2 separate regions of the Homo sapiens genome follow, and region 1 is linked to region 2. Evidence: promoter capture Hi-C in human tissues and cell types (Jung and others, 2019). All regions are on one chromosome and are shown on one strand. Each heading gives the region's core, a stretch centred on a gene start or on the middle of the fragment in contact. The rest is flanking DNA. Distances are from core to core; before and after follow the strand shown.

Evidence for each region. The method cuts DNA at HindIII sites, captures the fragments that hold promoters and counts their contacts. A contact is called where the count stands out against the background at its distance.
Region 1: a fragment that was not itself captured here is called in contact with the fragment with the promoter of MYL2 in region 2 in 1 of the 25 tissues and cell types used here (spleen).

The regions. Positions count from the first base shown.
Region 1 is chr12:110,527,557-110,530,560 of GRCh38, reverse strand. RAD9B (RAD9 checkpoint clamp component B) reads right to left here. Exons shown (of 11, transcript NM_001286535.2): 11 at 1-36. Among named protein-coding and RNA genes, the nearest start is that of RAD9B, 27 kb to the right of the region's middle. RefSeq lists an enhancer at 1-240. The HindIII fragment of the contact is 4,060 bases long and covers 1-3,004 here.
Region 2 is chr12:110,919,329-110,922,286 of GRCh38, reverse strand. It overlaps MYL2 (myosin light chain 2), which reads left to right and starts at 1,708. Exons shown (of 7, transcript NM_000432.4): 1 at 1,708-1,760. The coding sequence starts at 1,758. RefSeq lists an enhancer at 900-2,958. The HindIII fragment of the contact is 26,604 bases long and covers 1-2,958 here.

The DNA of each region.
Region 1 (3,004 bases), core at 303-2,802, 390 kb after region 2:
GTCAGAAGAAACTGCTCCAAAGAACATGCAAGAAAACTGGAGGGAAAAAAGGAACTGCATTGTTGATTCCAAAGAGAAAGTTTGCTCATTAAATGCTCCAGGTGACAGCCCTCCTCAGAAACCTGACCAGTATTATATCCCTGTCTTTGCTGGTGATGGTTCACAGAACACCCAGAACCTTCATTATTGGTCCAACACGTCCTAAAACCAAACCTTGGCCGCGCATGGTGGCTCACGCCTGTAATCTCAGTACTTTGAGAGGCCAAGGTGGGCGGATCACGAGGTCAGGAGATCGAGACCATCCTGACTAACATGGTGAAACCCCGTCTCTACTAAAAATACAAAAAAAAATTAGCTGGGTGTGGTGGCGGACACCTGTAGTCCTAGCTACTCGGGAGGCTGAGGCAGGAGAATGGCGTGAACCCGGGAGGCGGAGCTTGCAGTGAGCCGAGATCGTGCCACTGCACTACAGCCTGGGGACAGAGCAAGACTCCATCTCAAAAAATTAAACAAAAAAAACAAACCTTTCCCTGCCTTCAAAGGCACATGACAATCTTCAGTTTGGGATCAATGGTCTGCTGCTGACTCCCCTCCTGAGCCATCAAAGCTTCCACCAGAACTGAGAGGCAGAGGTCAACGAAGCCTCCGTAAGCCACTGGATTAATTAATCCATCTTCTTCCCTTCCCCTCCTGCTACGGCAGAAGCCACTCTTCCAAGTTAAAGCCAGTCCTTTCCTCCCTATCTCTGCATCCCAGCACCCTGGGAATGTTAGCATTTTCAAATGCTCAAATGCCTCTCATCTTCACCTTTTTATTTGTTATCAGGTTTTGCCCTATTGCCCAGGTTGCAGTGCAGCTGTGTGATCACGTCTCACCGCAGCCTCAAACTCCTGGGCAATCCTCCCACCTCAGCCTCTGGAGTAGCTGTAACTACAGGTATGCACAACCATGCGCAGCCTTTTTTTTTTTTTCCGTAAAGACCAGGTCTTGCTACGTGGCCCAGGCTGGTCTCAAACTCCTGGCTTCAAGCAATCCTCCTGCCTTCACCTCCCAAAGTGCTAGAATTACAGGCATGAGCCACTGTGCTCAGTCTTCTTATCTTTAAAATACAGAAATAGCCAGGCACGGTGGCCCACGCCTGTAATCCCAGCACTTTAGGAGGCTGAGGCAGGTGGATCACCTGAGGTCAGGAGATCGAGACCAGCCTGGCCAACATAGTGAAACCCCGTCTCTACTAAAAATACAAAAAATTAGCTGGGCATGGTGGCGGGCACCTGTAATCCCAGCTACTAGGGAGGCTGGGGCAGGAGAATCACTTGAACCTGGGAGGCAGAGGTTGCAGTGAGCTGAGATTGAGCCACTGCCAGCCTGGGCAACAAGAGCGAAACTCCATCTCTAAACAAACAAACAAATAGCCTAACCTCATCCCATTTCCCCCTTCAGTTACTGCTTTATCTCTAATTGTAGAGCTGTCTACACCCACTGTCTCCATCTTCTCATTCTCCTACTCTTTACTTAAAAAAAGCTTCTCCAGGCCCGGCACGGTAGCTCACGCCTGTAATCCCAGCACTTTGGGAGGCCAAGGCGGGTGGATCACCTGAGCTCAGGAGTTCGAGACCAGCCTGAGCAAGATGGTGAAACCCTGTCTCTACTAAAATACAAAAAATTAGCTGGGTGTGGTGATGCATGCCTGTAATCCCAGCTACTTGGGAGTCTGAGGCACAAAAATCACTTGAACCCGGGAGGTGGAGGTTGTAGTGAGCCAAGATTGTGCCCCTGCACTCCAGCCTGGGCAACAGAGCAAGACTGTCTCAAACAAACAAAAACAACAAAAAAAGCTTCTCCCTCACTGACCCCCATATCACAGAAACTTATGGTCAACAGAATTTACCACATCCTTAAAGTCAGGACCCATTTTCAGTCCTCCCCACTTGTTATTCACTCTGACATCTTTCTCATGCCGCACTCTCCTGGCTAATCTCAGCTCAGCCAGCTTGCCCTCTTCTAAGCAGCCTCTGAACTTGGGTTACTTAACCTCAGCGCTGCTGCCATTTGAGGCCTTATGAGTCTTTGGTGTAGAGCTGTCCTGCAGGGAGGAAGATGGTGGGCGGCACTGCGGGTCTTTACCCGCTACATGCAATTAGCATTCCCTTAACATATCCAAAACTGAATTCATGATCTTACTAAGCCCTGAATCTACTTCTCCAAACCTAAGACCTCCCTGGATACCTTTTTCCTTAACCCCCATAACCAATCCATCACCAAGTCCTGCTAGTTTTGGCTCCTAAATGAACTATTTCAGCCGCCTCTCTCCACTTCTCATCTAAGTAATCACCATCTCTCAGATGCTACAATTGGGTGACTATTGCCTCACTGAAGCCCGTTTTTCATATAACACTTTCAGCTAAAGTCATCCAGTCAACATTCAGTCTGTCAGCCCTCCCAGGTAAAGCCATTCAAATATTTTAAATACCCAGGTACTTTGGCCGCTTGCACAGCTTCCAGGACTCTCCAGCATGATCTGGCTCTTACCAAGCACTCTAGCCTCCCCTTGTGCCACTGTCTCCCTCTGGCTCTGATCTCCAACCACAGTGGCCATCCCTCAGCTCCTTCAAGCCCCCAGGCTCCCTCCCCTGCTGGGGCCTTTGCACAGGCCGCCCTCCCTGAGCTCTACTCCCACCCCCATGCCCTCATCCTTTCCAGCTCAGCTCAAACACCAGTTTCAAGGGGAAGACGTTCTGACCTGGATTAAGGCAGTACATACCATTAAATCTTCTCCAAGCACCCTGAACTTCTCCTTTATTGAACTAAACACAGCCTTTCAAAAATTATATATTTAGTCATGTTATACCTATACCCTAGTCCCGATACGTGATACCCGCTCTAGTCTCTAAACAAGTTGAGGAAGCTTGTTTATTTTGTTCACTGTAGTATCCCTCGCATGGCTGTCTAGGACACAGCTCTCAAGAAATACTTGGAGCTGCACAGTACCACAAGACAACAA
Region 2 (2,958 bases), core at 459-2,958:
CCTCAGGTGATCTACCCGCCTCGGCCTCCCAAAGTGCTAGGTGTGAGCCAACATGCCCGTCCTTTTTTTTTTTTTTTTTTTTTTTGAGTCAGAGTCTCACTCTGTCGCCCAGGCTGGAGTGCAATGGCGCTATCTCGGCTCACTGCAACCTCTGCCTCTCGGCCTCAAGCGATTCTCCTGCCTCAGTCTCCTGAGTAGCTGGGACTACAGGCCCGCGCCACAACGCCTGGCTAATTTTTGTATTTTTAGTAGCGACAAGTTTCATCATGTTGGCCAAGGTCGTCTTGAACTCCTGACTCAAGTGATCCACCCGCCTCAGCCTCTCAAAGTGCTGGCATTTCAGGTATAAGCCACTGCACCCAGCAGGAAAGCTGTCTTCAGTAAAAGTATTATATAATGACACCTTGCATTCTGAGAGCAGCTGCTGTTTTCAAGGCTCTTAAAGAGCCTGGACTCTGGAGACAAAGGGGCCTCCAGAGGGGTCCACGCCTAGCTCCATCACTGTGTGACCCTGGGCAGCTCACTTCGCCTCTCTGAGCTTTTGTTTCCGCATCTGTAAAATGGGGGCATGGATGATGAGGTGGTCCCCACCCTCTAGGGTGGCTGGAAAATTATGTGTGGGAGCCATGAGCACATAGTGTCCGGCACGTGCCAGTGCTCAGTCAATGAGATTTGTCATTTCTTCAGTCAACAAATATTTATTTTTGAGCTGCTGCTGTGTGCATCATGAGCTGGGAGCTGGGGAGACAGTCAGTGGTGAGGGAAACTAAAGTGATCCCTGCCCTCTGAGCTGACGCTCCACAGATGCTGAAGAAAATGAGTCAGTGCACTGTGGGCAGTGTTCGGGACTGCCTCACGCTGTGCAGAGAAACAAAGAAGGGAGATCGGAGCGCAGGAGGTGCGTGGCTGTGTTATTTGTTTGTTTTGAGACAGGGTCTTGCTCTGTCACCCAGGCTGGAGTGCAGTGGTGTGATCGTGGCTCACCACAGCCTCAACCTCCCGGGCCCAAGTGATCCTCCTGTCCCAGCCTCCTGAATAGCTGAGACTATAGGCATGCACCACCACGCACAGCTATTTTTTTTTCTTTTGCGTAGAGACAGGCATCTCCCTATGTCACCCAGGCTGGTCGCAAACTCCTAGGCTCAAGCAATCTTCCCGCCTCGGCCTCCCGCCGTGCTGGGATTTCAGGCATGAGCCACAGTGCCAGCCTTCATGGTTATTTTAAAGATGGTGGTCGGGGAGGCTTCACTCAGGAGATGACATATGAGCAAAGATGCAGTGAAGGAGGTGAAGGAAGGAGCCGTGCGATGACTGACAGAAAGACATTCCAGGTAGAGGGCACACAGGTGCAAAGACCCTGAGGCCAGATCCAGGCTGATAAAACAGAGCATTTTAGCAGTCTCCTCTCCCTGCCATTTTTTTTCTCAAAATTGACAAGCACAAGTGTCCCCGGCCCAAGCACCGCAGAGAGCGCGCAGCATCTCTCCCCGTGACCATGACCCAGCTACTGCCTCTTTAACCTTGAATGCCTTTTTGGGGGCTCACGTGTCACCCAGTGGCGAGTGAGCCACCCTTACTTCAGAAGAACGGCATGGGGTGGGGGGGCCTTAGGTGGTGCCCGCCTCACCTATGACTGCCAAAAGCGGTCATGGGGTTATTTTTAAACATGGGGAGGAAGTATTTATTGTTCCTGGGCTGCAGAGAGCTGGGCGGAGTGTGGAATTCTTCTCGGGAGGCAGTGCTGGGTCCTTTCCACCATGGTGAGTACAAGGGCTCCAGGAGGTGATGATGCCGGGTGGGCGAGGAGAGGAAGCCACTACAAGCGAGGGACCACGGCGGAGGGGGAGGAAGGCGGCCCTCAAAGCCTCCAGCCCCTTGTGGAAAAAGCCCCATTGACTGCGCGGGCACAGAGGAACCCCAATCAATGCCCCGATAGGCCACAAATAACAGCAGCTCTCGGGGACTCACAAACACAAAATAAGAGAGTTGGCTTTTTTATGGCTTGTCTACTGACCTCTCGAGGAATCAATAACTCCCAGGACTTGCAAAATGGGATTGAATGCTTTTAAGGATCAAATTGTAATTCTTTTCTCTTGTTCAGGCAGCTGGGAAAAAGAATGTTTTTGTTTTCACCTTTTGAACTTGCAAATTTAAAACCTTTCTTTCTGTGCTGTTGGGTTAGGTGTCCCCCTCCTGAAGTGGGCAGTCCCCAAATCAGGGTCAGCACAGGAGGGAGAGTGGTTAGAGGCAGGAACTCTGGAGTCAGAATGCCCAAGTTCAACTCCCCAAGTTCAACGCCCAAGTTCAACTCCGGCTCTGCCTTCTGTGTGTGTGGCTGTGTGATCTTGGGCAAGTGACCCAACCTCTCTGAGCCTCAGTTGCCTCTCCTGTAAAATGGGGATGATAATAATAGTATCCACTTGACAGAGTGGTTATGAGAATTAAATAATACATATGTAGAGTACCGAATCATTTGCTGTTATTGAAAGTCAGAGAGAAGTGGGGTGGGGAAGAAAGGTCAACTCGCTCTTCTCTGCCCTATTGATGTGGTGCAAGGACGGAGCATTCAGAGAGGAGGTTTTGCTGCCATTTGGAGCAAGGGAAAATTGTGGGGTGTGGGGCGCAGTTGGGTTTTAACACCTTGAAGAACTGTCATTTCATCTTGGCATTCATCATGGCTTAGTGAGCCTGACTTTTTCTTTCCCTCCAATCAATTCTCCTTCTGTGCATTACTGAGCTTTTTGTGAAATGCATCAGAACAAAAGTGGCTGGATCCTGCAGGGGCGATCTGAAGGTGTGGCCTCCATCCCCAGGGACACACCTGTGGCTTCTCCTAGTTGGTGAAGGAGCCACTGCAAGATGCACAAACGCTTATGATCCACTGGTACCAGAGGGCTCTGGAGAAACTTCATGTCATGTCCTTTGCTCCCTCCAGCATCACCGTTTGGAGACCTGAGT